Regions from separate parts of the Homo sapiens genome. Here region 2 is linked to region 1. The links are contacts of gene promoters, found by promoter capture Hi-C in human tissues and cell types (Jung and others, 2019). All regions are on one chromosome and are shown on one strand. The core of a region is centred on a gene start or on the middle of the fragment in contact, and the rest is flanking DNA. Distances in the headings are between cores, read along the strand shown. Region 1 holds the start of RCN2 (reticulocalbin 2). Region 2 overlaps SCAPER (S-phase cyclin A associated protein in the ER).

Evidence for each region. Contacts are between HindIII fragments. The study calls those that stand out against the background at their distance.
Region 2: a contact is called between a fragment that was not itself captured here and the fragment with the promoter of RCN2 in region 1, in 1 of the 25 tissues and cell types used here (spleen).

The regions. Positions count from the first base shown.
Region 1 is chr15:76,929,791-76,936,174 of GRCh38, reverse strand. It overlaps RCN2 (reticulocalbin 2), which reads right to left and starts at 4,426. Exons shown (of 7, transcript NM_002902.3): 1 at 4,190-4,426; 2 at 3,709-3,814; 3 at 453-649. The coding sequence starts at 4,333. RefSeq lists a silencer at 3,984-4,733. The HindIII fragment of the contact is 23,440 bases long and covers 1,679-6,384 here.
Region 2 is chr15:76,752,955-76,759,205 of GRCh38, reverse strand. SCAPER (S-phase cyclin A associated protein in the ER) reads left to right here. Exons shown (of 32, transcript NM_020843.4): 15 at 5,258-5,398. Among named protein-coding and RNA genes, the nearest start is that of SCAPER, 150 kb to the left of the region's middle. The HindIII fragment of the contact is 4,177 bases long and covers 2,325-6,251 here.

The sequences.
Region 1 (6,384 bases), core at 3,177-5,676:
ACTTACTTTTTTGGATACTTACGATTCTCAGTTGTTTGAATCCACAGATGTGGAAACCGCAGTTTTTTTAAGTGAGTATATAAAACTATGTGTTTAAAAATGGGAATGGGCCATAATGGCCTTCTTAATAAAGATAAAACTGATTATTCAATGATATTAAAATATTGAGATACTCATTCAAAACACATTTAAAAAGCAACTCTGGAAATGAGGACAATTAAATGATGCAGCCGAGAAAAACAGATAGAAGGATCATGTAGGTAATTTAGAATAAGAGTCCTAAATCTGGCCAGAAAGGAAACCATCAAAATGACTGCTGAAGTGGAACAGGTGATTTCCTAGAGAACAAGACAATCCAGCTTATGACCTCAGGCCCTCAATGTGCTCATTCATGCAGGAAGGTAAAGTGAACTGACATGATCAAAAGAAACAGCTTGTGCACATGAACTCACCTTCCTAAAGGACTCCTCTTCTGCATCATCCAGAGCAGTGTTCTCATCAAAGTCAATCACACGATCATACATCTGAATGTTATATTCATCCCAAGTCACAGTATCATCACTGTTTTTATCATATTCAACAAACTGTTGTTTTGCTTCTTGCATAGCATAATGCTTAAAAGACATCTGAATCCATGAACTGAGTTCACCTATGAGAATTTCCCAGAACACAACGCATGTGACGTTAATTCTGATACTTAAGAGTAAGGATTTCCAAACCTTCTCTGAAAAGGCAAAATCTTTGATGTTTGCAAATACTGAGAATTGGCCTAGTTGTATTAATAGAAATGGGGTAGGAAGTGGGAAAGGCTGTTTAGAAGAGCTCATGAAGCTTTTAATTATTTTTTTTTGAGATGGAGTCTCGCTCTTTCACCCATGCTGGAGTGTGCAGTGGTGCGATCTCAGCTCACTGCAACCTCTGCCTCCCGGTTCAAACGATTCTCCTGCCTCAGCCTCCTGAGTAGTTGGAACTACAGGCATGTGCCACCACACCCGGCTAATTTTTTGTATTTTTAGTAGAGACGGGGTTTCACCATGTTGGCCAGGCTGGTCTCTAACTCCTGACCTCGTGATCCACCTGCCTCGGCCTCCCAAACTGCTGGGATTACAGGCGTGAGCCACCATGCCTGGCCGGAGCTTCCATACTATAACATATGATCTAAATATAATGTAAGCTCCATAAAAGTTTGGGTATGTTCTGTTCACTGATGTACATCAAATGCCTGGAAAGTTCCTGGCTCTGTAAGTATTTGTTGAATGAATTACCAACTGGCCAAAATAGCACTTTACTTTTAAAAAAAATGTTATCCAAAATCTTGCAGAAAACCTTTGCTAACTACCACAGATCTCTCAGGAAGCATAAATATTTTGATAGCTATTTATTTTAGTATGTATGAGAAAAAACAGTGTTTTTTATTTATGAAGGTGACATAAAGTCTTCCTTTAAAATAAATTTTATGTGAGTTGAATTAAAACTATAGTAAGAAAATAATAGATGGTTAAGTAGATATGGCCTAAATTCTGAAAAGGTATTCAAGTGACTGAGAATACTGCTTCAGTATATTACCTTTAAATATGTTGTTAAAACATCTGGAGTAAATTTTAACGAAGTTATGGGTAGCAATTTATGCCCTTCCTGCAACAGCTATCTGTCTTAACTTGGTACCTGAAGGCATGGGAAAGTTTCTAAAATTCAAATGTTCACTTTTCAATCAACTTTTAAAAAATCTATTTGGCTGGGCTCAGTGGCTCACGCCTGTAATCCCAGCACTTTGGGAGGCTGAGGCAGGCGGATCACCTAAGGTCAGGATTTCGAGACCAGCCTGGTCTCGGGTAAAACCCCGTCTCTACTAAAAATACAAAAATTAGCCGGGCATGGTGGCCAGTGCCTGTAATCCCAGCTACTTGGGAGGCTGAGACAGAAGAATCACTTGAACCTGGGTGGCAGAGGCTGTAGTGAGCCAAGATCACACTACTGCACGCCAACATGGGTGACAAGAGCGAGACTCTGCCTCAAAAAAAAAAACAAAAAACTATTCATAAAAATATTTACTAAACTACGTTAAAGGAAACAAAGGGAGGGACGAACACGAATATTTGTGAGGACAGCATGAGTATACCATTTATCAGGTTCCTCTGTACATGTTGCCTCTAATCTTCAAAACAATGCAATTATAATCATCACTATTATACAGGTGAGGAAACTGAGGTTCAGAAAAGTCCAAGCCTTCACAACTAGTAAATAGCAGAGTCCAGATTCAAACCTGTCTGGCTTCAAAGCCAACTCCTACTGAGTTTTGCTACCTCTTAACATCTGATTCCAGACCTGGCCCTCAAAGAGCAAATTGCCAAAATTATCTTAAGGGTCCTCAAGTAGAATGAAGGCTTTCGTAAGCACCATGAATCTTTCTTCTAGTTTATTTAAAGAGATCACCATGGCATAGAAGAAAACAGAATGGAACAGGGATCAGAAATGTGGGTTCACACTTCAGCTTTGCCATCAGGGGGTAGTTTACCATCTCAAGCTTTTCTTCTCATCTGTATAATGAATATTTGGACTAAAACTTTTCTAAGTTTAAACTTCTTAAAACCTTACTATTAAATATTTGAACATATCTAGGTCTTGACAGATAGGTACCACGCAGTCTTCCAAATCAACGTGTTGTGTTCTTTGATTACTCTAGTATAACCAAAGATTGACTTATTCTTAGATTGGATAATCAGAGACCAAAGGTCTTGTTATTATTGTCTAACTAAGTGGAAGAAAAAAGCCCTTAATCTTCCAGAGGGTTCCAATGTGAATATGTCATTGACAGCACATCTTAAATTTACCAGTTTTTAATTGTCTCCAGCAACTTAATTCCTTGATGGTGAACAGCATTTAAATGAGAGTTACAGAAAAACAGCTAACTTAAGAGTCACAATAACAACCTGAATTTTTCTGAGGACCCACTTGGAACGCTGACAGGGAACATCATTTGAATTGAACAATGGGGAGAGACAACTGCACAGCAATTTATTTAGAACATTCTTTTAATAGTCTGTGCATTTCATTTCTGACTAGAGAATTTACCTGAGAGCATCAGATTTTTTTTTTTAACTGAAGGATATTAAAACCTGAATTAAGAGCAGGATACCTGGATTCTAGTCCAGCTTTGCCACTTATTTGTAGAAGGCACTTATCCCTGTGCTTCATTTCTTCATCTCTACAAAGTGATGTGGACAAGATGATCCCAAGGCCCCTACCAGCTCTAACATTTTGGTATAATGTTATAATAAACGTAATTCACAGGCAACAGGTCTTTTTCTACTTGCTTAAAAAAAGAAGCAAATTCCTAAAATTTAAATGAAGCATATATCAAAAGAGCGATAAATCATTTACTGCCTTAAAGTTTTGGGGCATATTTCTCTAAAATAAATCATATTGTTGACACTAACAAAAGTCACGTGAGAAAGAGGGTGTCTCAAGGTGTGACTTCCACATAGAGTACAGGGTCAATGATGTTTATATATAACTGGAGAAAGCACCGAGTTTTACTTGGTTCTCAGTGTCTAAAGATTTGTAAGTATAAAGCCTATTCTCCATGTCCTTTTCTCCTTCTCACAGGACTTCCAACTTGGGACACTAGCAATCTATACATTCAGCAGACACCGCTGCTTAACATATTTGTGTTTGTCTCCATTGTTAGTCGTGTAGGGCAGTCCTTACTTTCAGTGAGAAAGCCATCTGAGTCCAAGTCGATTTTCTTTATGATCGCCTGCAGTCTTTTTTGCTGCTCTTCGTGGCCGAGTTTAACATATTCATCCACATCTTCCTTTAGGGGGAAGCGACACACAGGAGGGCCAAGCATTACTATCAGTGGGGCAAAATGGTGGAGAAAAACAGGGCTACTAGAAGACCCCCTTGCCAAAGGGTTTCGGGGTGACCCGCACCTGCACTTCAAGGCCCCTACCCCCTACACACCCTCCATGATCTGAGGGGTAGAAGGGATCCAGCTCTTGGGCCGTGCTATCTCCTCAGGCTTTCCAGGCCCCAGGACCCCCAGAGAGCGAGTGCCGCGCCGCCCGGCCCCCATTGTCAGGCCGCCCCTGCCAGGCCTCGCCCGGCCGCCCCCCTTTGTCCCGGGACAAAGCCCGCGGCAGCCGCGGTGCGAGGCCCGGCCCTCCCAGCACCGGCCTGGCCGCCTCACCTGGACGCCCAGCAGCGCCTCGCGGTCGTAGTCGCTGCGGCGCTCGCCCAGCGGGTAGTGCAGCTCCTCGGCCTTGCCGGCGCCGGCCGCGGCGGCGCACAGCAGCAGCAGCCCCAACGCCGCGGTCCTCGGGCCCAGCCGCATCGCGCCGGCCCGCGGAGGACACCGAGGGACGCGAGGAGGGAGGCTGGCGGGGGCCCGGGCCGGCTGCGATGCTCCGCGGGCGGCTACAGAGAGGCGGTGCGACGTACGTTGAGGGCGGAGGGAACGGGAGGCGGAACCTGCGGTGGCGGCCACAACGCCCATGGACGGGCTGGGGGCCGGTCCACCAATGCGGTGCGGAGGCGCGCCAGGAGGAGGCCTATATGGCCGGCGCGGAGTGGCGGGGCACCAGGCCGCGCCGCTGATTGGGCAGCGCGGCGCTGGGGGCGGGCCGCCGCGATGTCGGGGTCAGCGGCCGCCCAGAGAGCTCCAGGAGCCATGCTGGGACTGCAGAGAGGGTAGACCTCTACGACCCGCGCCTTGTCGTTCCCCCGAAACGCTTCTAAAAGCACGCCCCCACCCCACTCCTGCCCACTCCTGGTCCACTCCATGTGCCCCTCCTACCGTCCATCAATGAGAGAGGCTGGAGGTTTCTGAGACAACAATACAATATCGAAAAAATTATTGCCTGAGGAATCGGCCAACAGTATTCTTTCTCAGTCTTCAATGTATCTATTTTATGAGAGTAGGACGTACAAACTCAGGAAGTGCAGCCAGATGCTTGTATCTGATGCTCAATTTCGTGATTTACAAGTTAATGTGAACTTGCTCAAATTTCTTGACCCCTGAAAACTTGTTTGCTCATCTATAAAATGAGCATAGTAATAAGACTACCTTAAAGAATTGTCGTGAAGATTAAATAATGTAATGGGTTTAGAACAATAGCTGGCACATAAGGTGAAGTGTTCAGTGAAGGTAGGCTTTCATCCATACAAGTAGAAAAACGAAAGATGATTGCACAGAAGGAATAGCTTAGTAAGTACCTAGCAAAACCTTTAGGGACAGAATGCATATACACATGGCTTCTATTCCATGTCTATTCACAGGTTTATGTAATTTCTCCACCTCAACCTGAACACATTAAACTCTAAGAAATTTGTAGGCTGCACCTTGAACCCTTTTCTTTATTGATTGCGCCACTTAGGATCAGGCCTTTCACAGAGAAGAAAAGGCTTTCTGGGTCCTCTTTCATTTCTCTCAGTCTCTATTTGGATTGGGAGCAAGAATTCTGTTCCAAACTGCAAAACTGGGTGGGCACAAGTCGCAGAAATTTCCTGGGTCGGGTTGAAATTTATGGTTTGGTCACAAACCATTGAAAGATTCACAGAGCAAAGTGTAAGTTCAATCTTTCCAATGTTATAAAGATCAACGAAGAACAAAGTTTTAAATTTCAGAATATAAATAAAAGCAAATTTTAGAGTTGATTTCATTAAACTAAAAAGAAAACCCTTTATTGCTGGATTTTAATTTTCACTTCCATTCTCGGTTTTGAGGAAAAAAAGAGAAAAATGTCCCAATTTAATATAAGAAACTCTGCTTTGTACCTGTTGTTCTCCAATAAGTAAAAGGTAAACTTTGACCAGCTTCCGGCGTGACTCCAGTTATAAAAGGTAGGCTACAAGGTACTGTGGAAGTTCTTCTAAACTCAGGGGATCCACAGATGGGAGTTTTGGGGGCCAAGGGAACTTAATGATATCTAAAGAGACAGTGGAGTAAGCAGTATCAGAAGGCTGGGTTCTGTCTTCAGCCCCTAAACAGGCTGTTTTCGCTCCCTGGGTCTATTGCTTTCATCTGGAGGAAAAGGATTGTGTTATCTCAGTGGATCTTAATTTGAGATCTTTGGGTTCCTAAGTGGTCCCTGCATGGTTTTCAGTGGTGTGTTTATCCCAAAATCTTGGTGCATGTGTATATTTCCAGGGAGGAAGTCTATAGCTTTGCTTTTATCAGAGTTTCAAAGGATCCATGTGGCAGAAAAAGTTAAGAGTCCCTGAAGAAGGCTCTGAGCAACTTTTTGACTCTTAAAATCAACGATTTTATTGGGATTGTTTGGAAGCAGATTACAGTAAAGGCCTATGCTTAAAAGAGGCAAGACTGATCCAATGTCATTACTTGTAATTAATCCATTCTACTCGGGGAAAAATAAATATCTAAAA
Region 2 (6,251 bases), core at 3,164-5,663, 180 kb after region 1:
GAACAACCCACAGTTAACATCATAATTGGGAAAAACTGAAAGCTTTTTCTCTATGATTTGGTAAAAGGCAAGTATGCCCACTTTTACCATTTCTCTCCAACATAGTACTAGAAATACTGGGAAAAGCAAGAAGAAGAAATGAATGCATTATATGGGAAGGGAAAGAAGTAAAATTATCTATTTGTAGATAACATCATAAATATAGAAAACCTTAAAGATTCCACAAAAAACTTTGAGAAATAATATATGAATTCAGTAACGTTTAGAGATACAAAATCAACATGCTTAAGAATCAGTGGGGTTTTCATACACTAACCATGAACTATATGAGAGAGAAATTAAGGATACAGTTTTCTTTATATTAGCAACAAAAAGAATAAAATACTTAGGAATTAACTTAAGCAGGGAGTTGAATCACTTGTATAGTGAAAATTATAAATTTATGAAAGAAAATTTAAAGCAGCAAGTAAATAGAAAGATATCCCTGTTCATGGATTAGAAGAATTAATATTTTTAGAGTGTCCATACAGCCTTAAGTGATCTACAATTTCAGTGCAATCTCTGTCAAAATCCCAACCATTTGTTTTTAGAGAAATAGAGAAACAGTCCTAAAATTCATATGGAGCTCCAAAAGACCCCAAAGATTGAAAGTCATCTTGAGCAAGAAGAGCAAAGGCTATAGTCATAACACTTTCTAACTTTAAATTTTATTATAAAAGTATAGTAATCAAAACAATTTGGCACTAGCATACAAACATACACACAGACCAATGGAACTTAATAGAAAACCCAGAAATAAACCTATGCAATTATGGGCAACTGGTCTTTGACAAGGATGCTGAGAACATACAATGGGGAAAGCATAATCTTTTCAACAAAGGGTATTGGGAATACTGGGTATCCACGTGAAAAAGATTGAAATTGGATGCTTATCTTACACCATGCATAAAAATCAACTCAAAATGGATTAAAGGCTTAAACATAAAATCTGAAACCATATAACTTTTAGAAAAAAACTTGCAGAAAAACCTTATTGATCTTGGTGATAATTTTTTGAATATGACAGAAAAACACAGTCAACAAAAGCAAAATTAGACACGTGGAATTATATCAAATTAAAAACCTATAGAGCAAATGAAAAAATTATCAAAATGAAAAGACAGCTATGGAATGGGAAAATATTTGTAAAAAATAGATAAGGCATTAATATCTAAAATATTTGAAGTACTCACACAACTCAATGGCAAGAAAACAGCCTGACTCAAAAATGGGCAAAGGACTTAAAGAGACACTTCTCAAAAGGAGAAATCCAAAAGGCTAACAGGTACATGGAAAGGTGCTCAGCATCTATAATGATCAGGGGAAATGGAAATCGAACTTGAGTGAAATATCACCTGACACTTGTTAGGATGGCTATTATCAAAATGACAAGAGGCAAGTATTGGGGAGGATGTGGAGAAAATGGAACCCTTGTATGCTGTTGGTAGGAATGTAAATTAGTATAACCATTATAGTAAGCAATATGGAATTTCCTCAAAAAATTAAAATAGAGCCTGTCATACGATCAGCAGTTCTTCTTCTGGGTATATATCCAAAGGAATTGAAATCTGGATCAAAAAGAGATACCTGTGCACCCATGTTCACTGTAACATTATTCGTAATAGCCAAGATATGGAAACAACCTAAATGTCTGCTGACAAATGAGAAAAATATGGTATATATTTGAGTGTGTGTGTGTGTGTGTGTGTGTATATATAAAACAGAATATTATCTAGCCTTAAGAAGAATGAAATTTTGACATTTGTGACAACGTGGATGGAGCTAGAGGATATTAAGCTAAGTGAAATGAGAGAGAGAAATGCTGCATGATCTCACTTCTATGTGGAATATGGGAAAAAGTCACATTCATAGAAGCAGAGAGGGGAGATGGAGTGATATTGGTCAAAGGGTACAACAGTTTGACTTATGCAAGATTAATAATTTCTGGTGAGGTAATGTACAACATCATGACTGTAGTTAACAAAAAACAAAATACCTGAAAACATAGGAAACATTGGGTTTATTCCTGGAATTCAAAGATATTCCTTCATTAGAAAGTCTATGAATGTAATGGGATATAAACTGATTAGAAGAGGAAAACCATTATTTTCAACATCAGGGAAAGATGATCAAGTTTGGGTAAGTGGGTGGGGCACTAATTATATTTACAGAAGAGAGTCTGTGTATTTAGAGCAGAATAACTATTGATCATTGCGGTAAGTGGAAATAACATGGGCTCTGGAGATAGCCAACCAAGTTTAAATCTTGATTTTATCATATAATAAGCTATGATTCCCTGAGCAAGTTACTTAACATTATTGTATTTCAGTTTCTTTTTCTGAAAAATGACAATTATAATTATTAACCTGTTGTGATGCTTAAATGAGGCAAGCATGTAAAATAGTAACAGTGCTAGGTTGGATGTTGTTTAATATACAGTCACTCTTATAACTGAGTACTGTGTTATCTATGCTGTATTATAAATGACAGAAAAATGTAGCTTAAAACAGCAAACATTTATCAGCTCACATTTTTCTGTGAAAAAGGCAACCAGGAATTGCATAATGATTCTTCTATTGTTTTTTTTTTAGAGTCAGGGACTTGCTCTGTCTCCCAGCATGGAGTGCAGTGATGCAGCATAGCTCACTGCAGCCTAGAACTTCTGGGCTCAAGCCATCCTCCTGCCTCAACCTGCTGAGTAACCAAGATTACAGGCACATGCCATCTTGCCTGGTTAAATTTTTAATTTTTTTGTAGAGACAGGGTCTTGCCATGTTGCCCAGACTGGTCTCAAATTCCTGGCATCAAGCAATCCTTTAACCTCGGCCTTCTAAAGCACTGGAATTCCAGGCATGAGCCATCATACCTGGCCATCATTCTTGCCCTGGGTCTTTGATGATTTTTTTTTTTTTTTTTTTTTTTTGAGACGGAGTCTGGCTCTGTCGCCCAGGCTGGAGTGCTGTGGCACAATCTCGGCTCACTGCAGCCTCCACCTCCCGAGTTCAAGCGATTCTCCTGCCTCAGCCTCTTGAGTATCTGGGATTATAGGCGTGCACCACCACACCTGGCTAATTTTTTATATTTTTGGTAGAGACGAGGTTTCACCATGTTGGCCAGGCTGGTCTCGAACTCCGGACCTGAAGTTATCTGCCTCCCAAATACTGGGATTACAGGCGTGAGCCACTGCTCCTGGCCTGATGAATTTTTAGTTAAGCTATCAGTCAGGTCATAGTCATCTGGGTCTGGAGGATCCACTTCCATACTCATTTGTGCAGTTATTTGCTGGCCTTCGTTCCCCTTTGGCTGTGGGCCAGAAACCTCACTTTCTTGCCAAGTATACCTTTCTACAGCCCAAGTGTCTTCATGACATGGCCAGTGATTTCTCCATAGAAAATCAGAGAAAGAGTGGGGGAGAGAAAGGAAAAAGTACCTAAGAGAGTTGATAAAATGAAGTTGTGCTGAGTTTTATAACATCACTTTTGCTGTATTCTTTTGGTCACAGTCCTGATACAATATGGGAGGAGATTACATAAGGATCTTAAAACCAGGTGGCTTAGATTAGTGGGCACCATCTCAGAGGCTCCATACTACAAGTACCTAACACAGCATGTTGAAAGATATATGGCCACTATATTGTAATTACAGGTGAACTCTTTCGTTACCTTCTGGTATTAGAAAGGAATATAAATATGCATGGGTTAAGCATATTATTTGGATTACTTTTAGTGTGTGATTTAAATTTGGGAGAAATAGTTGGACCACATAATCTGAATGTTCATAAAAATGCGTTAGGTAGCACACGATTCTGTTGAATACAGTAGTAAAGTTGACTAGGACTGTAAGAAAATTCTTTGATTTTTCTTTTTACTTGAATCTCAAGAATTTGTCATTAGATGAATAGATTTGATATGAAAAGCAGTCTCTTGTGGGGTTCTGCAAGAGTCAATGTATTATTTTAATTTTAGCTTAAGAGAAGTGCTCTAACACAATCACAGTTCTTCTCTTACTGTGTTTTTTAATGCCAGCAAAATTATAGTGTATTTTCTTTTATCTAAATATGATCTCCAAGTATTCATGCAAGAAAATCATAGATTAGTGAAAGTATACAAGACTTTAGATGTTTTCTGGTTATTTTCTCATCAATGTAGGTATCCCTTCAATTAATTTTAATGGCAACTTTCATCTTCCATTTGTATGATGGATTATTGTTTTCAACACTGTTTCACATGAGTAATATCATCAGATCACCACAATAACTCTATGATGTACACAGGGCAGGTACTGAACCTCATTTTATAGAAGTAAAAACAATCTAGGAGAGGCTAAGTGTTGTTTCTAGTGTTACACAACCAATAATTTGCAGAGCTAAGGCTTTAAGGACATGTCATCTGGCTCTTAGTATAGTGCTATTTTTGTATCATACTTTTTTGGATGGTTCAACACAATTATTGAGAGAAAAAAACAATTAAAATGTTAGGTTTTTTCCACTCATATTGACCCATCTTCTGATTTTCTATAATTTATTTTCATTGGTGCTGAATCTTATTTCCTGGAGCACAGAACAAGCTTTTGCTTCTTCTGTTTGAGATTGTTTTAAGGAATTAAAGTTTTAAGGGTTAATTTCTTAAAATAACATCAAATAGCAATTACTACATCTATCTTTTTTTGTAGGTGAAACCCTCTCTGTTCCTTCAGAGAATGTTTCTTATGCAAATAATGTGATTTGTTAGATGTCATTTTTCAGTTTCTAGGATAAAATTACTTATTTTTCTTGAATGTGGGTTACATCATAGAGATGTTAACATTTATAAGGACAAGAATTATACACTATATTCATTTTAAACATACTCATGGTAACAGTACAAGAATAATAGCAAATATTTCTGTAGAGGCATGTCTAAGCCACTGTTCTGAGAGTTTTATGAACCTTCAAATAATCCTGTGAGTTAGGTAATGTTATTTTTATTTCCTGTTTATAGGTAAGGAAACTGAGACATAGGCTAAAAAAGTTGTCTAGATTATGCAGCTAGTAAGTGGCCAATGTAGATTATGAATTCAGGTAGTCTGGCTTCATAGTCTGTGTCCTTAATTGTTAGTCATGTTGCTGCACATTTTTCCACGCTTAGAGTTTATATTTCATAAGCCATTTACTTGTTTGTACTTCTTTTAAATGATTGTATATATTGAAATTAAGGATGTGATGATTCACTATACGTAGGAGAAGGATGTCCGGAAGTGGAAGGAAGAATTGCTAGATCAACGACGCAGGATGATGGAAGAAAAATTACTTCATGCTGAGTTTAAGCGAGAAGTGCAGTTACAAGCAATTGTGAAAAAAGCACAAGAAGAAGAAGCTAAGGTATATCATAAGAGCTTTAAATGTTGACTTAATTACCCAAGTACTTTTTTGAATTGTTATATAATAGTAATAGAAGATAATGTTTATCCAATGTTTATTCTGTTGTAGAATAACAGCATTTTACACACTCATTTAAAACTTACCAGGTGCAATATTTTATCCCTTTGATAATTCTATGAGCCATCTATTATTATTTTTACAACCCTGTAAAGGTATAATTGATAGAGAATAAGCAGCACATATGTAAAGTATTCCATTTGATGAGTTTTGACATGTATATATCCTTGAAACTATCAGTACAATGAACATAATACACAATTCCTCTTTGTAATTCATTCCTTCATTCAACTCTATTATCTAATTACTGATCTGCTTTCTATCAGTATAGATGTTTGCTTTTTCTAGAACTTATGTGCATGGAATCATACAGTATCTATTGTTTTCTCTGGCTTTCCCTCATAACAGTTACTTTGAACTTCATCCATCCTGTTGTGTGTGTGAATAGCTCCTTTCTTTTCATTGCTGGGTCATTCCATTTCTTTACGTATGGAAATACCATAATTTGTTAACCCAGTCACTTGTTGATGGACATGTGTTTTCTTTCCAGTTTTTTTCTATTACAAATATAGCTGCTGTGGCAATTCATGTATACATCTTTGTGCAGATGTGTACTTTCATTTTTATTTTATAAAAACCTAGGAGTGGATTGGTGTATAGCATCTTACAATAGGTTCATGTTTAAGTTTTACACATGGTTTTCCATACTAGTTAAATATTTTACATTCCTACCAGCAGTGAATGAGAGTTCTAGTTGTGCCATATTCTGACCAGCACTTGACACAGTTACACATTT